Regions from separate parts of the Homo sapiens genome. Here regions 1 and 3 are each linked to region 2. The links are contacts of gene promoters, found by promoter capture Hi-C in human tissues and cell types (Jung and others, 2019). All regions are on one chromosome and are shown on one strand. Each heading gives the region's core, a stretch centred on a gene start or on the middle of the fragment in contact. The rest is flanking DNA. Distances are from core to core; before and after follow the strand shown. Region 1 has its middle 25 kb from the start of TEF. Region 2 holds the start of CSDC2 (cold shock domain containing C2). Region 3 overlaps MEI1 (meiotic double-stranded break formation protein 1).

Evidence for each region. Contacts are between HindIII fragments. The study calls those that stand out against the background at their distance.
Region 1: a fragment that was not itself captured here is called in contact with the fragment with the promoter of CSDC2 in region 2 in 1 of the 25 tissues and cell types used here (aorta).
Region 3: a fragment that was not itself captured here is called in contact with the fragment with the promoter of CSDC2 in region 2 in 2 of the 25 tissues and cell types used here (pancreas and thymus).

The regions. Positions count from the first base shown.
Region 1 is chr22:41,405,271-41,408,723 of GRCh38, reverse strand. No RefSeq gene overlaps it. Among named protein-coding and RNA genes, the nearest start is that of TEF, 25 kb to the right of the region's middle. RefSeq lists a silencer at 323-372. The HindIII fragment of the contact is 5,819 bases long and covers 1-3,453 here.
Region 2 is chr22:41,559,036-41,562,335 of GRCh38, reverse strand. It overlaps CSDC2 (cold shock domain containing C2), which reads right to left and starts at 1,326. Exons shown (of 4, transcript NM_014460.4): 1 at 1,153-1,326. It overlaps LOC105373044 (a long non-coding RNA gene), which reads left to right and starts at 1,453. Exons shown (of 2, transcript NR_134631.1): 1 at 1,453-1,616. The HindIII fragment of the contact is 6,219 bases long and covers 159-3,300 here.
Region 3 is chr22:41,761,809-41,765,128 of GRCh38, reverse strand. It overlaps MEI1 (meiotic double-stranded break formation protein 1), which reads right to left. Exons shown (of 31, transcript NM_152513.4): 19 at 1,808-1,955. Among named protein-coding and RNA genes, the nearest start is that of CCDC134, 37 kb to the left of the region's middle. The HindIII fragment of the contact is 7,279 bases long and covers 1-3,320 here.

The DNA of each region.
Region 1 (3,453 bases), core at 293-2,792, 150 kb after region 2:
CCACCACCACACCTGGCTAAGTTTTTGTGTTTTAGCAGAGAAGAGATTTCACTATGTTGTCCAGCATGATCTTGAACTCCTGAGCTCAGGCAATTCACATGCCTCAGCCTCCCAAAGTGCTAGGATTATAAGCGTGAGCCACTGTGCCCGGCTAGAATTTCCATTTCTTGATAGTTCAGTTCAGTGCAACACAGAGAATAAAAGCACAGACTCTGGACCCAGATAGATCTCAGTTTGAGTCTGCCTGTAACATTTCTTAGCTATGTGATCTTGGGCTACTCACTTCACCTCTCTGTGCCCTAGTTTTCTTTTCTTTTTTTTTTTTTTTTTTTTTTGAGACAGGGTCTCGCTCTGTCGCCCAGGCTGGAGTGCAGTGGCACCATCTCGTCACTGCAAGCTCCGCCTCCTGGGTTCACGCCATTCTCCTGCCTCAGCCTCCCGAGTAGCTGGGACTACAGACACCTGCCACCACGCCCGGCTAATTTTTTTGTATTTTTAGTAGACATGGGGTTTTACTGTGTTAGACAGGATGGTCTCGATCTCCTGACCTCGTGATCAACGCGCCTCGGCCTCCCAAAGTGCTGGGATTACAGGTGTGAGCCACCGCACCTGGCCGCTGTGCCCTAGTTTTCTCACCTGTGAAATGCGATTTATAATAAGATGTAACTCACAAAGGGTTGTGGGAAAGACAGTTTGAGAAAATGCTTGAAAAGCACTTAGCAGACTGGGCGTGGTGGCTCACGCCTGTAATCCCAGCGCTTTGGGAGGCTGAGGCAGGTGGATCACAAGGTCAGGAGTTCGAGACCAGCCTGGCGAACGTGGTGAAACCCCACCTCTACTAAAAATACAAAAATAGTCTGCTACCACCACCACCACTACCGCTCCTCTTATCTCCCCAGGGGACATAGTGACCCTTGAGTCAAAAGAGCAAGAGCCAGGTTTGTTACTCAAGGGCAGGAGCCAAGAAAGAAAGTGCCTAGGCCCCCTTACTAAGCCCACACTCCAGCCGTGTCAACAGAAAGTTCACCAGAGCTGGGTTCAAATCCTACTTACTGGGTGGTCTCAACCAAGTCACTTAATTGTTCTGAACCTGTTTTCCTATCTATAAAATGGATGTAAAGATACCGTAAAGGGCTGTTGTGAGGTTGAAATGAATGGGCATAGAAAGCATCTGCTGTCCTGGCACGGTATAGTTCATGCCTGTAATTCCAGCACTTTGGGAGGCTGAGGTGGGAGGATCACTTGAGCCCAGGAGTTTGAGACCAGCCTGGGCAACACAGGGAGACCCTCATCTCAATTAAAAAAAAAAATCTGGCCGGGTGTGGTGGCTCACGCCTATAATCCCAGCACTTTGGGAGGCGGAGGAAGGTGGATAGCTTTAGATCAGGAGTTCAAGACCAGCCCGACCAACATGATGAAACCCCGTCTCTATTAAAAATACAAAACTTGGTCAGGGGTGATGTCGGGCACCTGTAATCCCAGCTATCCAGGAGGCTGAGGGAGGAGAATCACTTGAACTCGGGAGGCGGAGATTGCAGTGAGCTGAGAGCTGAGATTGTGCCACTGCACTCCAGCCTGGACAACAGAGCAAGACTCTGTCTCAAAAAAACAAAAACTGACACAGTAAGTGCTCAATAATTACATGACCAGGCACGGTGGCTCACACCTGTTATCCCAGCACTTTGGGAGGCTGAGGCGGGCAGATCACTTGAGGTCAGGAGTTCGAGACCAGCCTGGCCGACATGGTGAAACCCCATCTCCACTAAAAATACAAAAAGTAGCTGTGTGTGGTGGCATGCGCCTGTAATCCCAGGTACTTGAGAGGCTAAGGCAGGAGAATCACTTGAACCCAGGAGGCAGAGGTTGCAGTGAGCCAAGATCACACCACTGCACTCCAGCCTGGGTGACAGAGTGAAACAGTCTCAAAAAATAAATTAATTAATTAAATAATCACATATCTTGAGCAGGAAAAGAGCCAGGCTGACTCTGTATGGGGAAGAGGGGAGGTGTTGGGCCCCTCCAGCTTAATCCCTGGACTCCCTTATGCTAAGGAAGTCCACAGCCTCCTTGACTACTCTGGCAGGAGTGAGAATAATGCTGTATGCCTCAGGGAAGCAGGGATCTAAATTCAAATGTATGTAAATATCATGCAAATCAGGAAGCACTGGGTCCTTCCAGGGGAGAGATGGAGAGAGAAGATCCAGTTACTAGGGACTGGGGATGGGGGTAGGGGGCTGGAACAGAAGCAGGGTACCCCAGAGCCTTCACAGGGCACTGCCCCAGCTGCCAATTGAGCAGCTGCCCCAGGCCCTGTGGGCCCCTCCTGGCATGGATATGAAACCTCCTGGGCCGGGTGCAATGGCTCACGCCTGTACTCCCAGCACTTTGTGAGGCCGAGGCGGGCGGATCACGAGGTCAGGAGATCGACACCATCCTGGCTAACATGGTGAAATCCCGTCTCTACCAAAAATACAAAAAAAAAAAAAAAAAAATTAGCCAGGTGTGGTGGTGGGTGCCTGTAGTCCCAGCTACTCGGGAGGCTGAGGCAGGAGAATGGCATGAACCCGGAAGGCAGAGCTTGCAGTGAGCCGAGATAGCACCACTGCACTCCAGCCTGGGCGACAGAGCAAGACTCCATCTCAAAAAAAAAAAAGAAAGAAAGAAACCTCCTGGTGCCCTGGGATCCGCGGACTCCTCGGTCAAGGTGAGAGAGTCCCTGGTGAGGACACACACAGACCCATTTGTGTACACATATGCTAACCCTGCCAGACGCAGTTGGACGCACACACATATACCCAGGAACAGTCACAGACACACATAGACACAATTGTACACACACTGAGACACAGGCACTCGGGCAACTCAGGCTCTGGGCCTCAGGGCAGGGGAGGCCCCAGAGATCTTGCCCCACTTGAAAAGGCAGTGCTGAGGCCCCAGGGGCCCCTGGTTTCCTGTCCACCCACCTTTTCCCCAACCCACACACACGGTACCTGCACACACCACCCCCACTCGAGGAGGCCCCTGAAAAAGCTCCCTCCTTGGCCTCATCCTGATATGGCAGGCCTGCTCCGTGCACCCCATGGGGTTCCAGTTCTTGCCCACATTTATTCTTTTTTTTTTTTTTTTGAGACGGCGTCTCGCTCTGTCGCCCAGTCTGGAGTGTAGTGGTGCAATCTCGGCTCACTGCAAGCTCTGCCTCCCAGGTTCACGCCATTCTCCTGCCTCAGCCTCCCGAGTAGCTGGGACTACAGGTGCCCGCCACCACGCCCAGCTAATTTTTTGTATTTTTTAGTAGAGATGGGGTTTCACCGTGTTAGCCAGGATGGTCTCGATCTCCTGACCTCATGATCCGCCCGCCTCAGCCTCCCAAAGTGCTGGGATTACAGGTATGAGCCACTGCACCCGGCCCATTTATTCTTTATTTATTTTAAAAAAAAATTTAACATTTATTTA
Region 2 (3,300 bases), core at 77-2,576:
TGGGGGGCGGCAGGGCAAAGCTGGGAGGAGGAAACATTCAGAATTTGGAGGGTCCAGAGGACTCTGGGATGGAGTCAGGTTTGGGAAACCAGTTCCCCATCCCCCAGAAAGCTGGAGACCCCCTTTCCCAGGGAGAGGCCCCTGCCGGATCACAGCCAGGCAGCATGATGCCAGGCTCTCAGAGAGGTTGCCCACCCCCCACTGGGCATACTTCCTCCTCTCCTACCCCAGCCCCAGTGGATGCAGCAGTTCACACTCTGTATTTATTATTGTTCTCGCTCTGTGTCCCCCTCCCCTCTCCCTGGGAAGAGCCTGCAGGCTGGCAGCTTGGCAGGAACCTGCTGTCTCCTTGTGGGTGCCAGCGTCGCCCCTTATCTCCGCCTGGACTCCTTGTGCCAGGGTCAGGCCATTCATGGGCTTGGCACCAGCCAAGGCCACCCTAAGTCCCTGTATCCCAAGATAGAGGCCTGGCAGGCCCTGACTTATCACCCCTGCCCTCCGGGGGCTGTGCCCTGGCAAGGGTGGAGGTCAGAGCAGACCAGCAGGCAGGCAAGAAGCAAGGGCTCGGGGTGGGGTGGTACCTGGGGGAAGAGAATAACCACACGGAGCCACCTCTCTAAGCCAACTAACACAATTATCCCCATCACACTGGGGAAAAAATAGAGTCAGGATAAGACAGCTGCTCCAGGTCCAACTGTCTGCCTTTCCCAGCCGGTCCCTTCCCAGCCCAACATTCCAGGGGAAGGACCAGCAAGGGTCCCTGCTGCACTCTGCTTTCAGCAACTGGAAGCGGCACTGGGGTTTCTCTGGTCAAGGCGGTCCTCTCTCCCGCTGCTTCCCAGACAGGAGGCTGCGGCTTGGCAGGTATCTGCTGCTCTCTGCCTCCTGAGCCAGACGCAGGTCCCAGACACAGACACAGACACAGACACAGACATGCTCCCACGGGAGCCACACGGCCTCACCTCATTTGGGGGTCACGGGGAGAGAATGAGGGAGGGAGAGACAGGTGGTATCCTCTATACCCCCAACACCCTATCTGTAAGCTGAACTGGGCTGATCCAGCCCCCACCTTCACGTTGTACCTCTCTCCTTCGGCCTGGCCAAAGCCACAGTTTCTGGCACAGTGTCCTCAGGCCCCATCTAGCCCCTCACCTCTCCTGGGCAGCTGGGGTCCAGGCACTGCCTCCTGCGGCGTCCGCGCTCTGTCTCTCTCTGGCTCGTGGAGCTGGCAGGCAGGGGATGGGTCTGGAAGATGTGTGTGTGTGTGTGTGTGTGTGTGTGTGTGTGTGTCTGTGTGTGCTCGCGCGGGCGGTACCTCAGCCCCTCACTCACTCACACGCCTTCCAGCTGACGTCAGGGAGAGCAGGAGGGAGGGATGAGAATTTGTACTCCCTGCTTAAAGGGACACCAGGCTCTGTGGCTCATGGCCCAGACATCACCTCCTGAGTCAGGCACTGCCAGGTGAGAGGCTCAGCTGCGTCTCTCGGGGGCCTTAAAGCTTCTTTTTTTGGAAAGTGGCTTTTATGGTCGGGCCACGGTATAATTTGCCCTGCCCAGTGAGGGCAGCTGCTGAGGAATGCAGGGGAGGAAGAACCTGAGACAGCGCCACGTTCCTGGTAATTAGAGAGCAAGTGGGGTGGTGAGTTTGAGTGTGAGTGTGTGAGTGCACACTGGGGGGCCCCTCGGGGTGGGTGGGCATGAGTGGGGGTGAGTCTGGGAGAATGGAGGTCAGAGCCAAGAGGAGCCCCCCAGAGGGGTCGAGACAAGCCAGGTTCCCAGGGACACCCAGACACTCGTCTCCCCTCCGGACGCTCAGTGGTCCTGCCCTCTGCTAGTACAGACACTGACACGGCTCATCTCTGTCTACCCCTTGTAATATTTCCATGGAATTGAATTGACGAGGACCCCAAGGAAGTGATCGGCTTGAAGGTGCACAGGTGAACACCCCACAGCCTGGGAGGCTCTGAGTAGAGAAGTAGAGAGGGCTGATTGAATTCAGGCACCCAGCCTGTTCTACACCACACGCCCTGGCTTCGAAGTGCTCCGCACTGTCAAGCTGTGTGACCTTGGGCCAGCCCCTGAGGGCCTTTGGAGGTTGAGTGTGTGATGTTCCTAAACCCAGGGCCAGCTGGAGGAGGCCTCCACAAAGGTGCTTCTCTTCGTTCTTCCCATTCCTTCTCAGCCTCAGCTTGGAAAGAAGGAAGCCTTTCCCTGGTGTCTCCTGGTACTACTGAGGCAGGCTGGCATTTTCAAAAGGAGTCTTTTTAAAATAAAAAGGAGGTGGGAGTTAAAAGGGAAACCGCAGAGAAAAATACAAGTAACTAATACAAATAGCTAAGACGCCACAAGAGCTTGCTCTGTTTCAGGCAGCAAGCTTTGCCCTCATTGAAACCTCACAACAATTTAATAATTTATTTTTATCATCCCTACTTTACCGGTGAGGAATTAGAGGCTCAGGGAGGAGGAAGGACTTGACTTGCCTATATTCTTCCAACTGGCTAGAGAGGTACTGGAACCCAGGAGCACCCAGTGTCACCACACGCCCCTGCCCTTCCAGAACCTCTCAGGACAATCAGGCTCAGACAGTCTGGGTTTCTGGTTCTGCAGGAGAGACTGTTGAGAAATGCTGCCTGTGGTTACCTGGGGATGTTCTGAATTATTATTATTTTTTTTAGAGAGTATTGCTGTGTCGCCCAGGCTGGAGGGCAGTGGCTTGATCTCAGCTCGCTGCAACCTCCGCTTCCCGGGTTCAAGCGATTCTCCTGCCTCAGCCTCCTGAGTAGCTGGGACTACAGACACACACCACCACACCCAGCTAATTTTTTTGTATTTTTAGTAGAGACAGGGTTTCACTATGTTGGCCAGAATGGTCTCGATCTCCCGACCTCGTGATCCACCCACCTCAGCCTCCCAAAGTGCTGGGATTACAGACGTGAGCCACCGCGCCCAGCCAGGGTTCTGATTTTATTTCACAGCCCCACCTGAGAACTCTACCCAGAGGAGCCTCCCTTCCCCTTTAAATTCTCCTCTCTCTTTCCTCCTTTTTATTTATTTATTTTTTCTTTTTTGAAACAGGGTCTTGCTTTGTTACCCAGGCTAGAATGCAGTGGCTCAATCACAGTTCACTGCAGCTTCCAACTCCTGGGCTCAAATGATCCTCCCGCCTCAGCCTCATGAGTAGCTGGGACTACAGGGGTGCACCACCATGCCTGGCTAAGTTTTCAAAAAATTTTTATAGAGATGGGGTCTCATTATGTTGCCCAGGCTAGTCTCAAACTCCTGGCCTCAAGCGATCCTCCT
Region 3 (3,320 bases), core at 728-3,227, 200 kb before region 2:
GGAGGCTGAGGCAGGAGAATTGCTTGAACCTGGGAAGCGGAGGTTACAGTGAGCCAAGATGGCGCCATTGCACTCCAGCCTGGGAAACAAGAGCAAGACTCTTGGTTGTTCAATTATTAGAACTTTTCATTTTGAAGCAAAGGCTTCTCAGGTCATGAACATTATTAGTATTCTGAAAAAAAAAATCAAGACTGAAGTTCAAGTAACTTTCTCTAGGTCACACAGTTAACTGATGCGGGAGTCGGACTCCAGCTCAGACTTGACTGACTCCTAAGGCTCATTCCTTAGTACCACCTCTGGTTGGTACAGGAGCAAAGAGCTCTAAGGTATTGGTATCTTCTTCTGGTAACAGTTTATTAAAGAAAGTGGATTGCTGGGACTCAGATCATTGTTAATTAGGCTATTGGATCACTTTCGTGGTGGTTGTGTGTGGACAAGTTTTCTCTCTCCAGCTTCCTTATAAACTCCTGGAATCAAGGACCACGTCTGATTCATCACTGAACCTCTCACCTATTTCATAGAATATTGCTTCTGTTCCTTAGTGTGGACCCTTCAGTCTAAAGCTAAAGGCACTCTTCCTCCATTGACTATTAATTTTGCCTCTTTTTGATTACTGTTGAGGCAAATGTGATGAGAGTAGACCTGGTTTAATTTGAGTGGAAACAGAAAGGCATAGTGGAAGTGAATGGGTTTTCAAGTAAGACACACCTGGGCACACAATGTCCTGTTGTCTCTCTCTTTGTGCTAGTAGCAGCCACTGGTGATCATTGCCTAGATCCACTAATTAATTAGGGATTACAAAACAATAATATTCTAGTTCTGTCATTATCTGTTTATTAACTTAAATACTTGTATAAAAGGAAACTTCCAGCCGGGCACGGTGGCTCACGCCTGTAATCCCAGCACTTTGGGAGGCCGAGGCGGGCAGATCACGAGGTCAGGAGATTGAGACCATCCTGGCTAACAGGATGAAACCCCGTCTCTACTAAAAATACAAAAAATTAGCCGGGTGTGGTGGCGGGCGCCAGTAGTCCCAGCTATTCAGGAGGCTGAGGCAGGAGAATGGCGTGAACCCAGGAGGTGGAGGTTGTGGTCAGCAGCGATCCTGCCACAGCGATCCTGCCACTGCACTCCAGCCTGGGTGACAGAGCGAGACTCCGTCTCAAAAAAAAAAAAAAAAAAAAAGGAAACTTCCCCTCATTAACTATTCAGTTACTCTGAAGGGTTAGATTAGATTACATAGGAAACATAGGTTAAGTGCTTGATTCTTTTCCTGTGGTTACCAGTTTTCAAAAACATGAGTTTGTTGCATAGCATCCTCCAAAGGTGACCAAAGAGTTGTTGTTTTTTTTTAATTTTTAATATTTTGTAGAGACAAGGTCTTACTATGTTGCCCAGGCTGGTCTTGAACTCCTGGCTGAGGCAGGAGAATCGCTTGAACCCAGAAGGTGGAGGTTGCAGTGAGCCGAAATCACACCATTGCACTCCCGAACTCAAGTGATCCGCCCACCTCAGCCTCCCAAAGTGCTGGGATTATAGACGTGAGCCACCGTGCCCAGCCTCAGTCCCGATTTTCTTATCTGTAGAATGCAAATAATCTCTTCCTCCCAGGAAGGCTGAGATAATTAGGTAAATTATACAGGCTCTGTATGAGTCTGCATCCTACTCCTCTCCACACTCCTAACACCTCCGCTTTGTCTCTCTCTACCACCCGCTTGTCTATACACTATCATCATCATGGTCTCCCAGGGAACACTAATGTAAAGAGGTACAGAAGGACAAGGAGCCCAGGCATTGTGGTCCATACCTCACGTAGTGTATTGTCTTTGTCCTGGCAGATTGCAAGCAGATAGATGGAGGCTTTGAAGACCACCAGTGGGGGGCGCTCGCCCTGGTCCTGCAGCGACAGGAGGAAGCTTTGCACAGCCTCAAATAACTCTGCCTCTGAGACAAACCTGTCAACCAAGAAAAGCCTGAGTGAGAAAGGCAGAGTTGGCAGGCCACTGGGCTCTTCTATTCTGCCTGGCCGCATCCTTCCTCAGCCCACTGTCCTGCCCCAATATGCCCACAGCCTAATGACATCTTAGACAAACAGTGTGCTATACATACTTACAAAGCACTGCCATATATATACATCACATTGTTCTGTGCCTTGTGCAAGGCTCAGTTAGGGGCCAAATACTCCTCATTCACACTTGGGAGGTGAGCTATCTGCCAGCTGGACCAGCAGTGTTAAAGAGAAGGGTGCTACTGCTGGGGTTCAGAAGGCCCTGCTCTGGCAGCTGCTCCACCCCTCTCTTCTTGTATTTATCATTAAACAGTGGTGTATTTAACAGATATAACACCAAAAGCATAAATGACAAAAGAAAAAAATGGATAAATTAGAGGTCATCAAAATTAAAAACATTTGTGCTTAAAAGATACCACTAAGAAAGTGAAAACGGCCAGGTGTGATGGCTCATGCCTAGAGTCCCAGCACTCTGGGAGGCTGTGGTGGGAGAACTGCTTGAGGCCAGGAGTTCGAGACCAGCCTAGGCAACATAGTCAGACCTCTTCTCTACAAAAAAAAAAAAAAAAATCAGTTAAATTAGCTGGTTGTGTAGACGCATGCCTATAGTCCCAGCTACATGGGAGGCTGAGATGGGAGGATCGCTGGAGCCCAGGAGGTTGAGGCTGCAGCGAGCCATGATTGTGCTACTGCAATTCAGCCTGGGTAAGAGAGCAAGATACAAAAGGAAAGGAGAGGAAGGGGGAAGGGGAAGGTAAGGAAAAAGGGAGGGTAGAGTAGGGGAGGGGAAGTAAGAGGAAGGGAGGTGAAGGGAGGGGAGGGAAAAGAGGAAAGGACAGGATAGGACAGGACAGGAATGGAAAGGAAAGGAAGAAAGAAAGAAAAGAAAGCGAAAAGACAGCAAACAGGAGGCCAGGTGCAGTGGCTCACGCCTGTAATGGTAGCATTTGAGGAGGCCAAGGTGAGAGGATTGAGAATATACCCAAAAAGAATTAAAAACACTACTCAAACAAATACATGTACACACATGTTTACAACAGCACTATTCACAATAGCCAAAAGGTGGATAGGCCCAAATGTCCACCAATAGGTGAATAAAAGCAAATTATGGTGTATACATACAAAGGTATATTAATCAGCCATAAAAGGAATGAAGTACTGATACACGGTACAAACATTATGCTCACTGGATGGACTTCTAAAATGATATGCTAAGTGGAAGAAGCCAGACACAAAAAGTCACACACTGTATGATTCCATCTATGTGAAATATTCAGAATAGGTAACTCCAAAGAGACAGAACAGATTGTTG